3 separate regions of the Homo sapiens genome follow, and regions 1 and 3 are each linked to region 2. Evidence: promoter capture Hi-C in 16 types of primary human blood cells and fetal thymus (Javierre and others, 2016). All regions are on one chromosome and are shown on one strand. The core of a region is centred on a gene start or on the middle of the fragment in contact, and the rest is flanking DNA. Distances in the headings are between cores, read along the strand shown. Region 1 overlaps LOC124902230 (a long non-coding RNA gene). Region 2 holds the start of NR4A3 (nuclear receptor subfamily 4 group A member 3). Region 3 has its middle 67 kb from the start of SEC61B.

Region 1 (2,700 bases), core at 50-2,549, 580 kb after region 2:
TAAGTACTGAGGCCTGGCGTAGTGGCTCACGCCTATAATCCTAGCTATTCAGGAAGCTGAGACATAAGAATTGCTTGAACCGGGGAGGCGGAGATTGCAGTGAACCGAGATCGCACCACTGTGCTCCAGTCTGGTCAACAGAGGGAGACTCTGTCTCAAAAAAAAAAAACAAAAAAAAACTACTGAGCACTGAGAATAAACTCAGCTTTTTATAAATAGATGTGGCATAACAATGAGAAGCCATTATTTCACAAATTGCAGTTCTTAGGGGAACAGTACAGATCTATAACTAGATAAGCCACGAATGCACAGTTGCTTATTCCTATACTATCCTTAAATCACTCCATTACTATTTTGATAAATATTACAGCACATTTCTAGGTCTTCACACCTAGGTACCTCGGTACCTGCTTTAAACCTTGAAAATTTCCTTTAAATAAAAATTAAATAGACATAATAAGAATTTAAAATATGTTCTGGTACTGGCTCAATAGCACAAGAGCATGTGACATGAAGCTATTATAGTAACATCAGCAGGGCCATGGGAGGATTTTATTAGACATATCAGATACTTTATTAAACACCCAGAGCCTTCTCATCATAAATGCAGCCAAGCAGCCCGAGTGATGGGGACGAAGCACCTCATGAGCTCTAATCTCTTTATTCTGGTATTTAATAACTATGAATAAGCAGGGATGGATGGTATCGTTTACAAGTCGTCGTGAACCCAGGAAAAGGGTGATTTCAAAGGTTCCTTTGGGGTCGTTGAGGCCTTGTCTATAAAATGTGCCTGGATCATCTGGGTTTCTCTTCATCCGCAGTACCTCGTCTTCCTCTTCATCCGCAGTACCTCGTCTTCAGCTGCACTAGACTCCCAAGAACTAGGTAAAGGGAGACTCTGGAGTCTGGAACCCTCACCTGCAAGTACGTCACTGAGTTAGCCACAAAAGCCTTCTCCAATTGTTCGATCTTGTTCCCTAGCAGCCTACATTATTGTACCTGAATAGGGAATAGGGAAAGGCTTCCTGTTCCCTGCAACTGGAAAGCAGTTTAAATACATCACACATGTACACAGAGCTCTTCCTTGACATTTACAGAATGGCCCAAAGAAGGCAGGGATTCCCCAAGAGCTGTGAGCTGCCCCATCACAAAAGGTCTGCTAGCAAAGTCAAAGGCTGAATAGAGGATTTCATAATCAAATTGGGAGTGGGGAGGGAAGGTTGGCCTACAGGACTTCGGTTTCCTTTTCAGTCCTAAAAGTTGAAGATTCTATGACTGATGTAGGACCAAATGCTACTCAATGTTGATAATATTTGTTATTTAAGGCTTATGTGCCAGGAAACTGTGCTGAATACTTTACTTCAATTCTTTCATTTAACCCTCACATGAAATAAAAGTCAGCCCCGCATCCCTTCTATACGGTTCTATATCTGATTATCCACAGACCAGGGAACTGAGGTTCAGAGGCAGCTGAGCCACGAGATCACATGGCTCATTAAGTGCCAGGCAGGGTCTAAGGCCCGCCCCAGAGCCTGTGCTTTCTACCTTTCAGGGTTGCTTCACCCACACAGGGGCAGAGTTACACAACTGGATTGTAAAGGGAGCTTGCCAGAGCTCCAGCCTGAAATCATTCCTCTACCTCTGGCCACTGTTTGTCAAGGATCTGCACAGGAAAACAGGAGATCCAGGGGTGACAGAGGTGGGAAAATCAAGAGTTTGTGGGCTGCAGGGAGAAGACTCAAAGGTCAAAGCCTTTTAGCTACTGTACAGTGAACGTGAGAAAGATGCTCAGGAGTAGGTTTATCCCCAAGAGGGACATTCCAGGGAAGGGAAATTCTAACCAAAAGTATTCCTTTTTCCTTTGAGTCACAGGCTTAGTTCCTCTGGGGGACCTTGGCCAGGCAGGATGTTTGAGGCTAGAGCCAGCCCTTGTTCCCCCTCTTCACTGTGCAAATCCCTCCTGGCAGAAAGCCACCCTATCTCAAGCCTGGGCTGCTGTTTTTAGAGCCCTCCCTACAATCCGTTCATGGCCTGAGCCCACCTGAGGAGCCAGAGGTTCTCTGGCTATTCACAGATGCTGAGATTAGAGTCAGTAGAAGGTGGAAGACAAATTTAAGAGGTCTGGCTTTCTCTCTCTCTCAAAAGGCAGCCCCCGGCAGTGTTTGTTCTCAGAGCAGCCCTGGGAAGAAGGATGGTCACTTTCCTTTCTCCCAAAGATAACTGAAGAGAAGTAAGAAAGTACCTGTGCTTGAAAGCAAAATGACAACAATTAATCTCTAAGCACAAGGCCTAGCCATTAAATTCTTTGGAGAAACAACTTTAGGAGTTTAACGACAATCAAGAGCATAAAATTGAATTAAGAGAAATAGTAATTAAATCAGGAAAGAAGTTTTTGCAACGGGGATGGTAAAGGAAATTAAAACCAGTAATGTTGAAAAATGTGGTGGGCAGAGCGGGGGGAGGGGGGGCTTGGTGGAGAAGAGCAAAGAGCCAAGCACAAAGCAAACTAGGTTGGGAGATGCAGAATGTATGGCACTCAGAAAAGGAATTTGGAAATTGTTCTCCTTGAAAGACCAGGTGTCTGGCACTTCCAATTTGTGTCTAAATATGCCCAAATCCTAATGGGGACAAGCTTTCTTTCATGAAAATAGAAGCATCCACTTGGATAAAGTATTTTTTTTAAAAGCTGTAGACTTAAGT
Region 2 (2,700 bases), core at 73-2,572:
AGCGCGAGTTCTGTCCGTGAAAAAGCATGCCTTTCCCACACCGAGCCAACGTCCAGAGGAGAGGGACACCGTCCCCACACGTGTCAGTGTGCGGGAGTCGCCAATTACACCCGATTTACCTCCTAAGGGAAAAGTGTAAACCGGCATGTCAGCGACGACAGGCAGACGTGCCTAGTGGAACCCCAGGCTCATTTCAATACAATAAGCCACATTCCTACAATTACGCCCTCTTTCCTGAGGTCCTCCGAGTGCGTCTGCAAACTCTGGCCGTCGCTGCCTAGGCCCTTCCCTCCTAAGCTTCCTTCCAGAGAACCAGCTCGGTGCCACCATTAGCAACATTTACTTGGACCCACCAGAGCTCCTATTTTCAATCCTACTTAAAAGGCAGGAAAATTACTGCCGTTCATCACCGGAGCTGCAACTCCCTGCCGCTGCCGCTGCCGCCGCCGCCGCCGCCGCCGAGAGCATCATTACCATGACAACTAGAGCCGAAATACCCTGAATTACATCGCTGGAGCCGCTATAGCACAAATCCCGGTCCTCCTCTTTGTTAGAGGCTTTTCGCCTCTTCGAGTGGGGGGAGGAATCCCACGAGCTCCAGAGATCCCCGCGGGCCCACTACAGGGGAAAAGTTTCAGATCAGAACCTACGGGCCGCTGGGCTAGCAAAGCCGGAGCCGGGCGGCAAGGTCAGGGGAGGGAACCCCACACTCAAAGTTGTCAATTTCAGGAGCGACGCTTCCCAGCAAGCCAACTTTTTTAGCAAGTCCCCTTATTAACTGGGCGAATCTCATACGTACTTGAGTGCTGTGGCGGTTCCGTCTTTAGAGCGAGTTTCTAGAGAGCTGTCCCGAAATCTGCACTGGGGGGGAGTCACAGCTGCTGTCCCGGAAGGGCTGCGGTGTACAAGCCCAGCGGCTCCCGGAGGCGGTGAGCGGCTGGTGGGGGATGCTGCGATCCCGACTCATGGGAGAGCACAGCCGAGAGGTTCCGCGGGCGTCCTGGCTTGGGCTGTGACCAGGGGGGAGGATGCCGCCGCTGTTCCCACCTCCACGGCCACTGCCGGCACCGTCAGCGTTGCAAAGTGAGCCCGGGAGGGGCGTCCAGCTGCGGCGCCGCGCTGCACCGGCAAGGGCTCAGGGCAAGAGGGGTGTGAGCGCGCGGGAGAGCGAAGTGTGTGTGCGGAGCCTGTGTGCGCGCTTGTGTCTGTGTGTGCGAGTGAGGGAGCGGGTGTGAGCGCGTCTGTGTATGGGGAGCGGAGGAGGAGCAGGAGCTGGAGGGGTGGGGGGCGGGAGGCAGGAGACTCCGCTCTCCCGGCTGCGCGTTCGCTCGCTCTCTCGGCACGTCATTTATGCCACAGGAGCCCTAGCGGCCTCTCCATAGAGTGCCTGGAATGCGAGACGTCAATGTGACGCCATGGGACGCTACGTCACCCTCCTCCTCCCTCCCCTGGCCCAGCCGGTTCCGCGTGTGCGAGGGAGGGTGTGTGTGTTCGTGTGCGCGCGCGCGCGCGCGCGTTCCTCGGCCAGTCGCACGGCCGCACAATGGAAACTCCGCCGCACGGCCGGCCCCGGCCTGGGGGCTTCTCTTTTTGCAGCGGAACCGCTCGCCAGGGCGTGCGTCTGCGGGAGGGTGCAGCGGCCTGCCCACGGGTCAGGCGGGACCGCCCAGCTGTCAGGCTCGGGTGGAGTAGAGTTGGAGGAGTGCTGCTGGCGCGCCTCCGAGGCTGCCCCGAGGCACGGAGCCAGGGCGAGGGGGGTAAGGGAGAGGACAGCTCTTCCGAAAGGGAAGGCTCCGCCAGCCAGCTTCTGACCAGCTCCAGTGACCTGGCAGCCGGTGCAGAAGGCGTCTGGCACCAGCCCGAAGACGCCCTGAGGTGCAGCTGCACTTTCCTCTTGCATAGGTTCTAAAGCTGTTTACGTTGCTCCGGTCCTCTGCGCCCAGGCTAATCCCCCCTCCCCGCATCATTTACTGGGTGCGTGTTTCACACAGGGATGCAGATGGTTCCGGGGATAAGGTTTGATTTCTTTACACGTACGGCGTGGGTTTCTTAACTGGACACGTTATAACCCAGCGAAGTGCACATCCATCATGCACACGCGCGCTGCAGCAGAAACTACTCTGTGTGTAAAACAAACACACACGTGTTGAACAGCTGAGCGGGTCTGACTATTGCAAATCATTCCTCCTCCCCGGCACCGGGTCAGAAATGGAACTCTCAACTAGCACTTTCACTTTTTGATGGTTGTAGATGCCCTCCGCCCACATCTCCCAAATTAAACATTTCGAAATCAATCAACAGGACTTATTAGTCAGTCCCTCGCTAGGGGATTTGCTTTGGTCTCCTCGGACACATTTGTCATGAAATGGTGTGCCGAAAGCCTGGGTGACTGTATGAAGGAGAGCAATTTCTTCCTGGAAATGATAAATTTAAGTGTAAATTTCTTGATGAAAACAAAATTTATCAGAGTTAAAGACCCCTAGTCCCAAAGGTTGCTGCTGAGTGAACGCAGTCTCTTTCAGAAATGAATTTTTGGACAGGAGAAAATATTTGAGTGAAACAATGCAGATAGAGTGGTCCCCATGTGGTCCGCTTGAATCACAAATACCGTTTTATATGTTTGACCTGTCCCAATTTGTGTGTGTGTGGCGGGGGCGGGGGGCGCTGCGCCGAGGGGAGATACAAGATTCCTTTGTAGAC
Region 3 (2,700 bases), core at 189-2,688, 530 kb after region 2:
GTTTAAAAAAAAAGAGAATGGGCTGCCCTGAGTAATAGCAAGTCTCCCATAACGGGAAGTATGTAAGCAGAGACTAGAAGACTATCTGCAAAATGGTCTAAAAGAGGAATTCCTAAAATTGGTGGGAAATTGGTTTAGACAACCTCCAAGTCTTTGCAAATCAGACGTTCTGGGAATTGAAGATGTTGGTTCCCCCCAAACTTTTCTGCAGGCCTAGTATCTGCCAGGCTGTGTGCTGGGAAAGGATGAAGTAGACCCAGCTCCTAGTGATGCTAAGTGAAACCCCAGTGTGATGGTTAATACTGAGTGTCAACTTGATTGGCTTGAAGGATGCAAAGTATTAATCTTGGGTATGTCTGTAAGGGTATTGCCGAAAGAGATTAACATCTGAGTCAGTGGGCTGGGAAAGGCAGACCCACCGTTAATCTGGGTGGGCACCATATAATCAGCTGCCAGCACAGCTAGAATATAAAGCAGGTAGAAAAACATGAAAAAGCTAGACTGGCCTAGCCTGCCAGCCTACATCTTCTCCCGTGCTGGATGCTTCCTGCCCTCAAACATCAGACTCCAAGTTCTACAGTTTTGGGACTTGGATTGGATGTCTCCTTGCTCCTCAACTTGCACACGGCCTGTTTTGGGACCTTGTGATCACTTGAGTTAATACTTAATAAACTCCCCTTCATATATGTATTTATTTATATATTTATATATATATGGGAGTTTAAGTATTAATAGGATTTTATATATATATCCTATTAGTTCTGTCCCTCTAGAGAACCCTGACTAATACAGCCAGTTTAGTGAGAAGACAGACAAGCCAGCAGCTAACTCCAGTGCAAGGCAGAATGGTGTACATGTTGGAAAGAGGTGACCAACAGCCAGCTATGAGTTTGAGGGATAGTTGTGATGAAGAACCACCCAGAACTGGAGGAAGTCCCCATAGCCTGCTTCCTTGAGTTAGAGGGCTCTGGTTATGGGGAAATGGTCTATATATAATAATACTTTTTATTGAGCATTTATTAGGTGCCAGACACTTAGCCCACTTGTCAGTTAATAGGCATAACAGTCCAAGGTAGGTACTACTGTTTTCCCCTATTTTACATATGAAGAAATCAAGGATAGAGAGGGCAAGTAATGTGCCCAAGGTCACATGCCCTAATACGAGGTCAGCCCTAATGTGAAGCTAGGCAGTCTACTTCCAGCCATTGCTCCTAATGAGGCTGCTATTCTCAATGCCTCTAGAAGAACAATGAAAGGTTTGGACCAGGCTGTCTATAATGCCTGGCCTCCCGAAACACCAGGAATGTCCAGTACTACCCCTCCAGGATGGGGCTGAGAGGAAAGCAGGAGTTCCTGGACCAGGTGAATGCAGCATCCATATTAACTTCATGCTCCCAAGTATGGATTCCTGAGCCTTGAACTCCACGGTATCTCTGAGAAGCCTTCTCACACACAGCTTCACCTTCCTAAAGCTCCCCATGAATCCAGAACAGAAGAGGAAAGCCTCGTTCTAAGATGCCCACATCCACATAGATTTTTCCGTAAACTCCCTCGACTTTCAGCTGGAATTAGATCTGGTTTCTGAAATCCAGACCATGAAGGGGTGGGGCGAAGTTCTGGGAGGGCCAAGCTGGGAGTGCCTGGTACACACAGGGAAACTGCTTCCATTGACCTGGACAGGCGCTGGGACAAAGTAAGAAGACAGGTGAACTACAAAGCCATCAGGTAGCCCTCAGTCCAAAGTCAATGATGAGACTGCAGCCTCACGACGTGTGGGGGCTTTACAGTGTCAATTTAGTGAAGCTGGAGTTGTGTTTCTTAGAATTCCCTTTTCTGGTTCGTGCCAGGTCAGCTTTGGCCACAAGTACACTTTGCAAGAGATTCAGAACAAGGAAAGGCAGCAGCAGCCACATTCTTGTTATGTTCAGAGGCCAGGGCAGGGCACAAGCCCTCACAGACATTGTCACATATCTTCTGGGTGGTGTGGGCCAGCATTGGGAACTGCGGCCCCCCCGAAGCCCACCAGCTCCTGCAGACGCTCTTGTTTCAGCTCCCCTGATCCCTGGGCCAGTTCAGCATTTTGTTTTTGTTCCATAAGAAAATGCATAACTTCTGTAAATCATCCCCCTCATCAAAGTTGGAGTCTTGGGTGAAGTGAGATACCAGTGTGGATTCCACCCCATTCCCTGAGTTCCAGCCGATCCATTTTAACCTCAGTTCTCCACTTCCTGTCCATCATTTCTTCCCCACTTCTGTATCTGATGCTGACTTCAGGCCCCAGCACCAGACACAGAAATAATGGCCTTGCATAGACCAGTCCCCGCAATTATATAAGGTGAAATGTCTATAGCCAACCCCTTACTGTGTCTGTCTCACCAAGTGGCTCTGCTTCTCTGACTGAACCCCAAGTGATATGAAGAGGAAAACGAGGCCAAGCCTGGCAGAATGGAGGGAGGGATAGGCTCAATTCCAATTCACAGCAGAGGTAGGTTTGTCTGGTGCAGGACCTGATGAAGCTCTTGAGCTTCTGAATGTGGGCTAATTAGCTGTCTTGTGAAACTATTGATCTCAGAACCTGAAGAAGACCCAACCAGTCAAGGAGCAAATGGCTTCAGTTAATGGAAGGCTGGAATTAGCTGGGGTCACATCAGAACTTTTGTATGACTTAGATACAGCACTATAGCTGCTATAGACACCACA

Evidence for each region. Contacts are between HindIII fragments. The CHiCAGO score rates a contact against its expected background, and 5 or more counts as called.
Region 1: a contact is called between a fragment that was not itself captured here and the fragment with the promoter of NR4A3 in region 2, in 5 of 17 cell types (total B cells, naive B cells, fetal thymus and 2 more). The highest score is 9.9, in total B cells.
Region 3: a contact is called between a fragment that was not itself captured here and the fragment with the promoter of NR4A3 in region 2, in 3 of 17 cell types (M0 macrophages, M1 macrophages and M2 macrophages). The highest score is 13.1, in M0 macrophages.

What each region holds. Positions count from the first base shown.
Region 1 is chr9:99,238,718-99,241,417 of GRCh38, reverse strand. It overlaps LOC124902230 (a long non-coding RNA gene), which reads right to left. Exons shown (of 2, transcript XR_007061690.1): 2 at 646-918. Among named protein-coding and RNA genes, the nearest start is that of SEC61B, 18 kb to the right of the region's middle. The HindIII fragment of the contact is 2,671 bases long and covers 1-2,634 here.
Region 2 is chr9:99,820,507-99,823,206 of GRCh38, reverse strand. NR4A3 (nuclear receptor subfamily 4 group A member 3) reads right to left here and starts at 1,322. Exons shown (of 8, transcript NM_006981.4): 1 at 800-1,322. RefSeq lists an enhancer at 92-604 and a silencer at 1,179-1,228. The HindIII fragment of the contact is 5,731 bases long and covers 300-2,700 here.
Region 3 is chr9:99,288,264-99,290,963 of GRCh38, reverse strand. No RefSeq gene overlaps it. Among named protein-coding and RNA genes, the nearest start is that of SEC61B, 67 kb to the right of the region's middle. The HindIII fragment of the contact is 3,250 bases long and covers 1-2,700 here.